Linked DNA regions of Homo sapiens: region 2 is linked to region 1. Evidence: promoter capture Hi-C in 16 types of primary human blood cells and fetal thymus (Javierre and others, 2016). All regions are on one chromosome and are shown on one strand. The core of a region is centred on a gene start or on the middle of the fragment in contact, and the rest is flanking DNA. Distances in the headings are between cores, read along the strand shown. Region 1 overlaps LOC124905979 (a long non-coding RNA gene). Region 2 holds the start of ATRAID (all-trans retinoic acid induced differentiation factor).

Region 1 (3,409 bases), core at 441-2,940:
CCAGCTACTCGGGAGGCTGAGGCAGGAGAATTGCTTGAACCCAGGAGGCGGAGGTTGCGGTGAGCGGAGATCATGCCGCTGCACTCCAGCCTGGGCGACAGAGAGAGACTCCGTCAAAAAAAAAAAAAAAGAAAGAAAGAAAGAAAGAAAGCCTGGCTGCTGGAAAATTGAAGTTTGAAGAAGCCTCAGCAACTCCCACATGTGGTGGCTAGTCCTAAAATACCAGTGATGGAGCCTCCAGCTTTCCTCTTCTGTGCACGCCAGGAACCCTTCTGTCAGATGCGTGCAAGATGGGAAGGGGCCGTCAAAGCACTGCCACTGAAGTTTCCTTCCCTTTAGGACTCAAAATGCCCACCGTCCTCCCCAAGAGAAGTTGTTCTCCAGCAGCTCTGATTCCTCAGCAGTAAAGGAATCAAAGTCTATCCCCGGGGGCAGTCTATTTTACTGAAATTAACCCCTGCAGTGTCTTGAAACTTGGCATCATTGGGGACTGATCAAAAGACAATAACTCTCTTCAGGGTAAACTTAGACTGTAAAACTTCAGAGGATTTTTTTTTTGAGACGGTGTTCACTCTGTCACTAGGCTGGAGTGCAATGGCATGGTCTCAGCTCACTGCAACCTCCGCCTCCTGGGTTCCATCGATTCTCCCACCTCAGCCTCCTGAGTAGCTGGGACTACAGGCGTGTGCCACCACGGCTGGCTAATTTTTGTATTTTTAGTAGAGACGGGGTTTCACTATGTTGGCCAGGCTGGTCTGGAACTCCTGACCTCGTGATCCGCCCGTCTCAGCCTCCCAAAGTGCTGAGATTACAGGCATGAGCCACTGCGCCCGGCCCAGAGGATATTTTAAAATCAAGAATTCCAGTAAAATGAGGCATAGTGGCTCACGCCTGTAATCCCAACACTTTGGGAGGCCAAGGCGGGAGGATCGCTTGAGCATGGGAGTTCTAGACCAGCTTGGGCAACATAGGGAGACCCTGTCTCTACTATAAAATTGAAAAATTAGCTGGGAGTGATGGTGCATGCCTGTGGTCCCAGCTACTCTGGAAGCTGAGGCGGGAGGATCGACTGAGCCCAGAAGGTCGGGGCTGCAGTGAGAGGTGATTGCACCACTGCACTCCAGCCTGGGTAACAGTGGCAGACCCTGTATCCAAAAGAAAAAAAATTCCAATAAAGCAAGAGGCACTGAGCAGATGATGAAATTTAAATATGCATAATTGTAAGCAACTGTTTTCAGTGTGAAGCGATCTTTTTTCCCCCTCGAGGTGATAAATTAATGCAGAATGTGAAATCAGGAATTTTGGATATTGCATAAATGATTTCAATGAGAATTTGAGTTTCATGGCTAGAAATATTCCAAAAGGAAAAAAAATTTGAGTTTCTGCACTAAAGCTAATAGCTAAAGCTTTTTGTAAATGTGATGTCAAATGTGGGATTTTGATAGCAGTATAGGATATTGCTACTGAAATGCATCACAGTTGGAAAAATGTGTGCTTTATCAATTTGTTCAATAAAACTCACATAATCTGAAGTTATGTAAATCAATAGAAAGCTTCAACAGCTTTCTGGATAGCATTAAAATAATAAATTATACTTTCTTAACAGTTGCTTATTAATTTTACCTGGTTAGTCTCTGTTTTTCTTTTCCTAGAATTTCAGATTGGATTTTGGAAGTTTGGACTTAAATAGCTTTAAGGTAATGGACACTTGTTATTCAAAGGCTTCACAAAGTTGGTTATGTAGTTAAACTGAGCCTCTCTGTGTGTCTGCATGTAAATGCGTGTGTGTGTGTGTGTGTGTGTGTAAATCCCTAAATTAAAGCTTAAATTTTGACCCATGAGTCAAGAGGATTTCAGATAAAACCTCAAGAGCTCGTATTTATGTGAATATTTCTTGTTACTGCTATCTTTGTGTCTTTGTGCCCCACAGGCAAATAGTCTTTTTTTTTTTCTTTTTTTTTAGGCGGAGTCTCACTCTGTTACCCAGGCTGGAGTGCAGTGGCGCAATCTCCGCTCATTGCAGCCTCTTCCTCCTGGGTTCAAGCGATCCTCCCACCTCAGCCTCCCAGGTAGCTGGGATTACAGGTTTGCACCACCATACCCAGATAATTTTTTTGTATTTTTAGTGGAGACAGGGTTTCACCATGTTAGCCAGGCTGGTCTTCAACTCCTGACCTCAAGTGATCTGCCCACCTTGGCCTCCCAAAGTGCTGGGATTACAGGTGTGAGCCACCACGTCTGGCCAAAAGTCTTACAACTGATACTGAATTTCAAAAAATTCCTAACTGCGAGAATCATCTAGCAAACACCGGAAAAACTTAGTATAGCAATACAAACCATATTTAGTTGCTTAAAGAAGTCACATACTGTAAAAAGAGAAGCTTTTAGCTCATAAAAGGGAACCATATAAATTTGAAAAGGTAGATCCGACTTTAGCCAGGTGATCAAAGTCAACATCATCAGTAATAGGTCATTTTCATAGTATATACCCTTGATGCGACGTGAGGAAAACGGCACCTTGCTTTTATGGTCTTCCTTTTAAAAACTCTTAACACCAGCCTAACCATTTAGAAAAACAACAGACAAATTCCAGTAGAGAGTATTCTATAAAATCTCTGAACAATATTTCTCAAAACTTGTCAAGGTCATCAAAAACAAGGGAAGTCTGAGAAACTGTCACAGTCCACAGAGCCTCAGGAGACATGACAACTAAATGTAATGTGGTGTCCTGGAGGAGATCCTGGATCAGAAAAGGGACATTCGATAAAAACTTAGGAAATCTGAATAGGCATGGACTTTAATTAATGATAATGTATCAGTGTTGGCTCACTGATTTTAACATGCTAATGTAGGATGTTAGTAATAGGGGAGGCCGGGTGTGGAGTAGATGGAAACTCCGCACTATCTGTGCAGCTGTAAATCAGACTTTTCTAAAAAATAGTCAATTTAAAAAAAGCTACACAGGGATAGAATGTGTTGCTTTAAATGTAAGGAAACCTTAAAATACAAAGGATCTAATTTATTTAAACATTTTTAAAGGAGGCAGAACTCACTGGGCTAGAAGTGATATATACACACATTGCACTAATAACTGTGCATTCAGTTATTGTAGATGACCAGGTAGTGGTAAAGTGAAAATTAGGTGCACTGGAAATTTGAGATTGGAGTGGAGCTGGTAAGCAGACCTTCCTTGCACCCTCTAGGAGTTGACTTGTCATCAAGAAAAGACTTGAGGCCAGGCGTGGTGGGTCACACCTGTAATCCTAGCACTTTGGGAGACTGGTGGATAGCCTGAGCCCAGGAGTTTGAGACCAGCCTGGGCAACATAGGGAAACCCAGTCTCTACAAAAAATACAAAAATTAGCCAGGTGCAGTGGTGCACACCTGTGATCCCAGGTACTCTAGAGGC
Region 2 (3,409 bases), core at 664-3,163, 260 kb before region 1:
AATAAATAATAATTTAAAAAAGGTATTACTCTGGAACTTAGTAGTAGTAAATATTCACAAAAGATGTTGGAATTGAAGGATGGATATTTCCTAATTTGGTAGAGGAAGGCAATTTCAGGTATGGAGAGAGGCCTGAACAAAGGTGGAATGCCTTTGAGGGCAGGCAAATCTGGCTGGTGCAGACCATTATGGAGGTTTGAGCGGACAAGTAATTGGAAATAATGTTGGAAAAGTGGGTTGGGACTAGTATGGTACTTAATGGTTTGAATTTTGTCCTGAGACAAAATTTAATACTAAATATAGTATTAAAGCAAGAGAGTGATAATGGAAAATGTTGGTTTTCTAAAAGCTTAATACAGAGAAGTATTTAGGTAGATGAAGGAAAGAAGAGAATGGAAGCAAAACATAACATTTTGAGTTTGAAGTTAGGGTGCACTCAGTAGGAAATGCTTAATAGGAAGCTAGAGGTACCCGTATGTACCTGGAGTGTGGAAAGGTTAAAAAAGACACTAAAGAGATCTAGTTTTGGTAGACATCTGCGTGATGATTACAGCTGAAACCATAATAGGTGGATTCTTTAAATAATATAAGGGTATAAAAGCAGCCAGGCTAAGGAATGGCCTGTATCCAGCATCTAGGGATGTCTTCCCCTCACCCCAAGATGGTGCCCTTCTGATTCAGGCAGCAACGGGCATGCAGCATTAGCTCTCGTGTCGTTTTACAATAAAAGGCCACTTTTGACAAATTTTGCACGCTCCCTGGACATTGGGTGCATATCTGCAGAAGAGAAAGAAACATTAGAACTCCAGAAAGAAAAGCCAAGAAAAGAACAAACGGCGATCAAGAATTAACTGCCAGTACACGTTTCCAGAATTCCTCTAACACGGGGCCGATAAATGGATAAACGGCTCGTGTCCCACCCTTGTAACAGGCTAGGCTAGGAGATGCCATCTCTTCCTCCAGAGTCCTGCGCCGAATCAGCTCCCGACACTTTCAGTACCAGATATCGCACAGGGAAGGTCCTCATCTCTGAAGATCACTATTCGAACTTATTTATTATGCTTTCTGCAGAGACTTCTCAATCTGACAGCCCTAGTTTGGCGCGGTGTAAAACGACCGCAGGTACGTAAAGAACTCATCAAGCATTACAAAAGTACAGCCCTACCACCGCACGATATATGGCGTTCGTGCGTAGAGAGATTACACAAGAGGCAGAGGACCCGTCTGTAGAAAGAACTTAAAGTTATTCTAAAATTAAGGGGCGAAATCAAGTTTCACAGGTCTTTGAAAGTCGGCAGGACTGGGGCGCCGAAGGCCTGCACGACGTGAGTACTTGGGAACAGGACCTGGCTGGGCAGGGTCGGGAAGCGTCAGGGACGAAATCAGAACCGCAGGCCCGCCGAGGAGAAGGGGGAGCCGCTGGCGAGCGCGACGCACGGCTGGCCAGCGACCCTGCTTCAGCCCGACCTCAAACTTGCTTCTGTACCTCGGGTAGCGCCAGAGCCCTTTCCACGCCCAGAGCGAGGAGCAGGGCGGCAGCCCAGGGCACCAGGGTCGTAAGACTACCCGGGTCGTGAGGCGCCATTTTCCGTTCCCTTGGTGCTCCGCTGCTCGCGCGACCCGGCCCCGCGGCCCCGCCCCGCAGCGCGTCAGGCCCTCTTCCCCGGGCGTGGCCTAAGCGGCCCGGTCCAGTCGCCCTGGGGCTGCTTGGGGGCTTTTCCTGCTCGTGGAGCTCTGCGCTGGTCTTCATGCGCCCTAGCCCTCTTTCGGGGATACTGGCCGACCCCCTCTTCCTTTTCCCCTTTAGTGAAGGCCTCCCCCGTCGCCGCGCGGCTTCCCGGAGCCGACTGCAGACTCCCTCAGCCCGGTGTTCCCCGCGTCCGGACGCCGAGGTCGCGGCTTCGCAGAAACTCGGGCCCCTCCATCCGCCCTCAGTAAACATGGCGGCACGGCGAGCGGGGCGGGCAGGGGGCGGGCAGGGGGCGGGGCCCCCGCGGGCTCCCGGCCAGGGCTCTCGGCCGGGCTCTGGCTACCCACGTGTGGAGACCGGGCAGGTGGGCCTGGAGAGCGTGAGCCGGTGCCGAGAGGCACCGGGGAGCGGCGTCTGAGCCGGGGCGGGGACAAGGGGGCGGGGAGGGGCGGAGCGAGCCGGCCTCCGGCGTGGGTCTGAGATCTTAAGTGCGAGCGGTAAGGTGGTGGTCTCCGCCGCGTAGAGGGAAGCGGGAAACCGAGAAAGAACGAGGGTGAGGGTGATGAGGGAAGGGCAAACCTCAAACTCCAGCGGGAGGACACGAGCCTGGATCGCCCCGGGCACCTAGTCCTCTTCACCTCAATGCTGATAGCGCATAGCGTCCCGGAGCCTGGCGAGGAGGTAGGAGCGGGATAGACGCTTCCCTAACTCATTTTCTTTGCCTTCCCAGGAAAAGGGAGCGATGTTGATCTCAGGAAGCACAAAGGGACCTTCCTAGCTCTGACTGAACCACGGAGGTAAGGGAGTGCGTTGCTGCCCCAGGGTGGGCCAGCGCCCTGACTGAAGGGCGCCAGGGGATCCCTGCTCCCGGCGCGACAGTGTTGGTTAGGGCCAGCCAGAAAGCTCCTTAAAGCCGACCCAAGTGATCATCTCGAGTAGCCGAGCCAGGCTTCCCTTCCACATTACCCCCATGGTGTCTGCCTGGAAGTTCCTGAAAGGTTTACGTTTAGCTGGCTGGCAAATTTTCTAAGGTGTTAGTAGCTATTAGCATTTTAAGGAGGGCCCCCAAAGCCTTTCACACCTTGAGGAATTATAGGCCCCAGGACAGATTTTGAGGGAATCTTTTTGGAACAGTTAGTCCTGCAGTGGTCTCATTGCCTTTTGTAGGAGTCAATGCGATCCACTGCAGTGTGTGACCAAAGTGAGTTCAGGTTTTTATTTTTATTTTTATTTTTATTTTGAGACGGAGTCTCGCTCTGTCGCCCAGGCTGGAGTGCAGTGGCGCGATCTCGGCTCACTGCAAGCTCCGCCTCGCGGGTTCACGCCATTCTCCTGCCTCAACCTCCCGAGTAGCTGGGACTACAGGCGCCTGCCACCACGCCTGGCTAATTTTTTGTATTTTTTAGTAGAGACGGGGTTTCACCGTGTTAGCCAGGATGGTCTCGATCTCCTGACCTCGTGATCTGCCCGCCTCGGCCTCCCAAAGTGCTGGGATTACAGGCAGTGATGTGGGACCCCTTTTAAAAACCTGAACTTGGCCTGGCGCGGTGGCCAGGCCACCGATCCGCCAAGGCAGGTGGATCGTCATGTCAGGAGTTTTGAGACCAGCCTGGCCAATATGGTGAAATCTCGTCTCTACTAAAAATACAAAAAAAAAAAAAAAAAATTAGCTGGGCGCGGTAGCACATGCCTGTAGTCCCAGCTACTCAGGAGGCTGAG

What was found. The method cuts DNA at HindIII sites, captures the fragments that hold promoters and counts their contacts. A CHiCAGO score of 5 or more calls a contact.
Region 2: a contact is called between the fragment with the promoter of ATRAID here and a fragment that was not itself captured in region 1, in 1 of 17 cell types (total B cells). The highest score is 6.4, in total B cells.

The regions. Positions count from the first base shown.
Region 1 is chr2:26,953,578-26,956,986 of GRCh38, reverse strand. LOC124905979 (a long non-coding RNA gene) reads left to right here. Exons shown (of 3, transcript XR_007086251.1): 2 at 1,653-1,697. Among named protein-coding and RNA genes, the nearest start is that of MAPRE3, 15 kb to the left of the region's middle. The HindIII fragment of the contact is 269 bases long and covers 1,556-1,824 here.
Region 2 is chr2:27,210,545-27,213,953 of GRCh38, reverse strand. ATRAID (all-trans retinoic acid induced differentiation factor) reads right to left here and starts at 1,913. Exons shown (of 7, transcript NM_001170795.4): 1 at 1,487-1,913; 2 at 656-777. The coding sequence starts at 1,585. SLC5A6 (solute carrier family 5 member 6) reads left to right here and starts at 1,686. Exons shown (of 17, transcript NM_021095.4): 1 at 1,686-1,934; 2 at 2,421-2,487. RefSeq lists silencers at 1,490-1,739, 1,930-2,249 and an enhancer at 3,032-3,409. The HindIII fragment of the contact is 10,416 bases long and covers 352-3,409 here.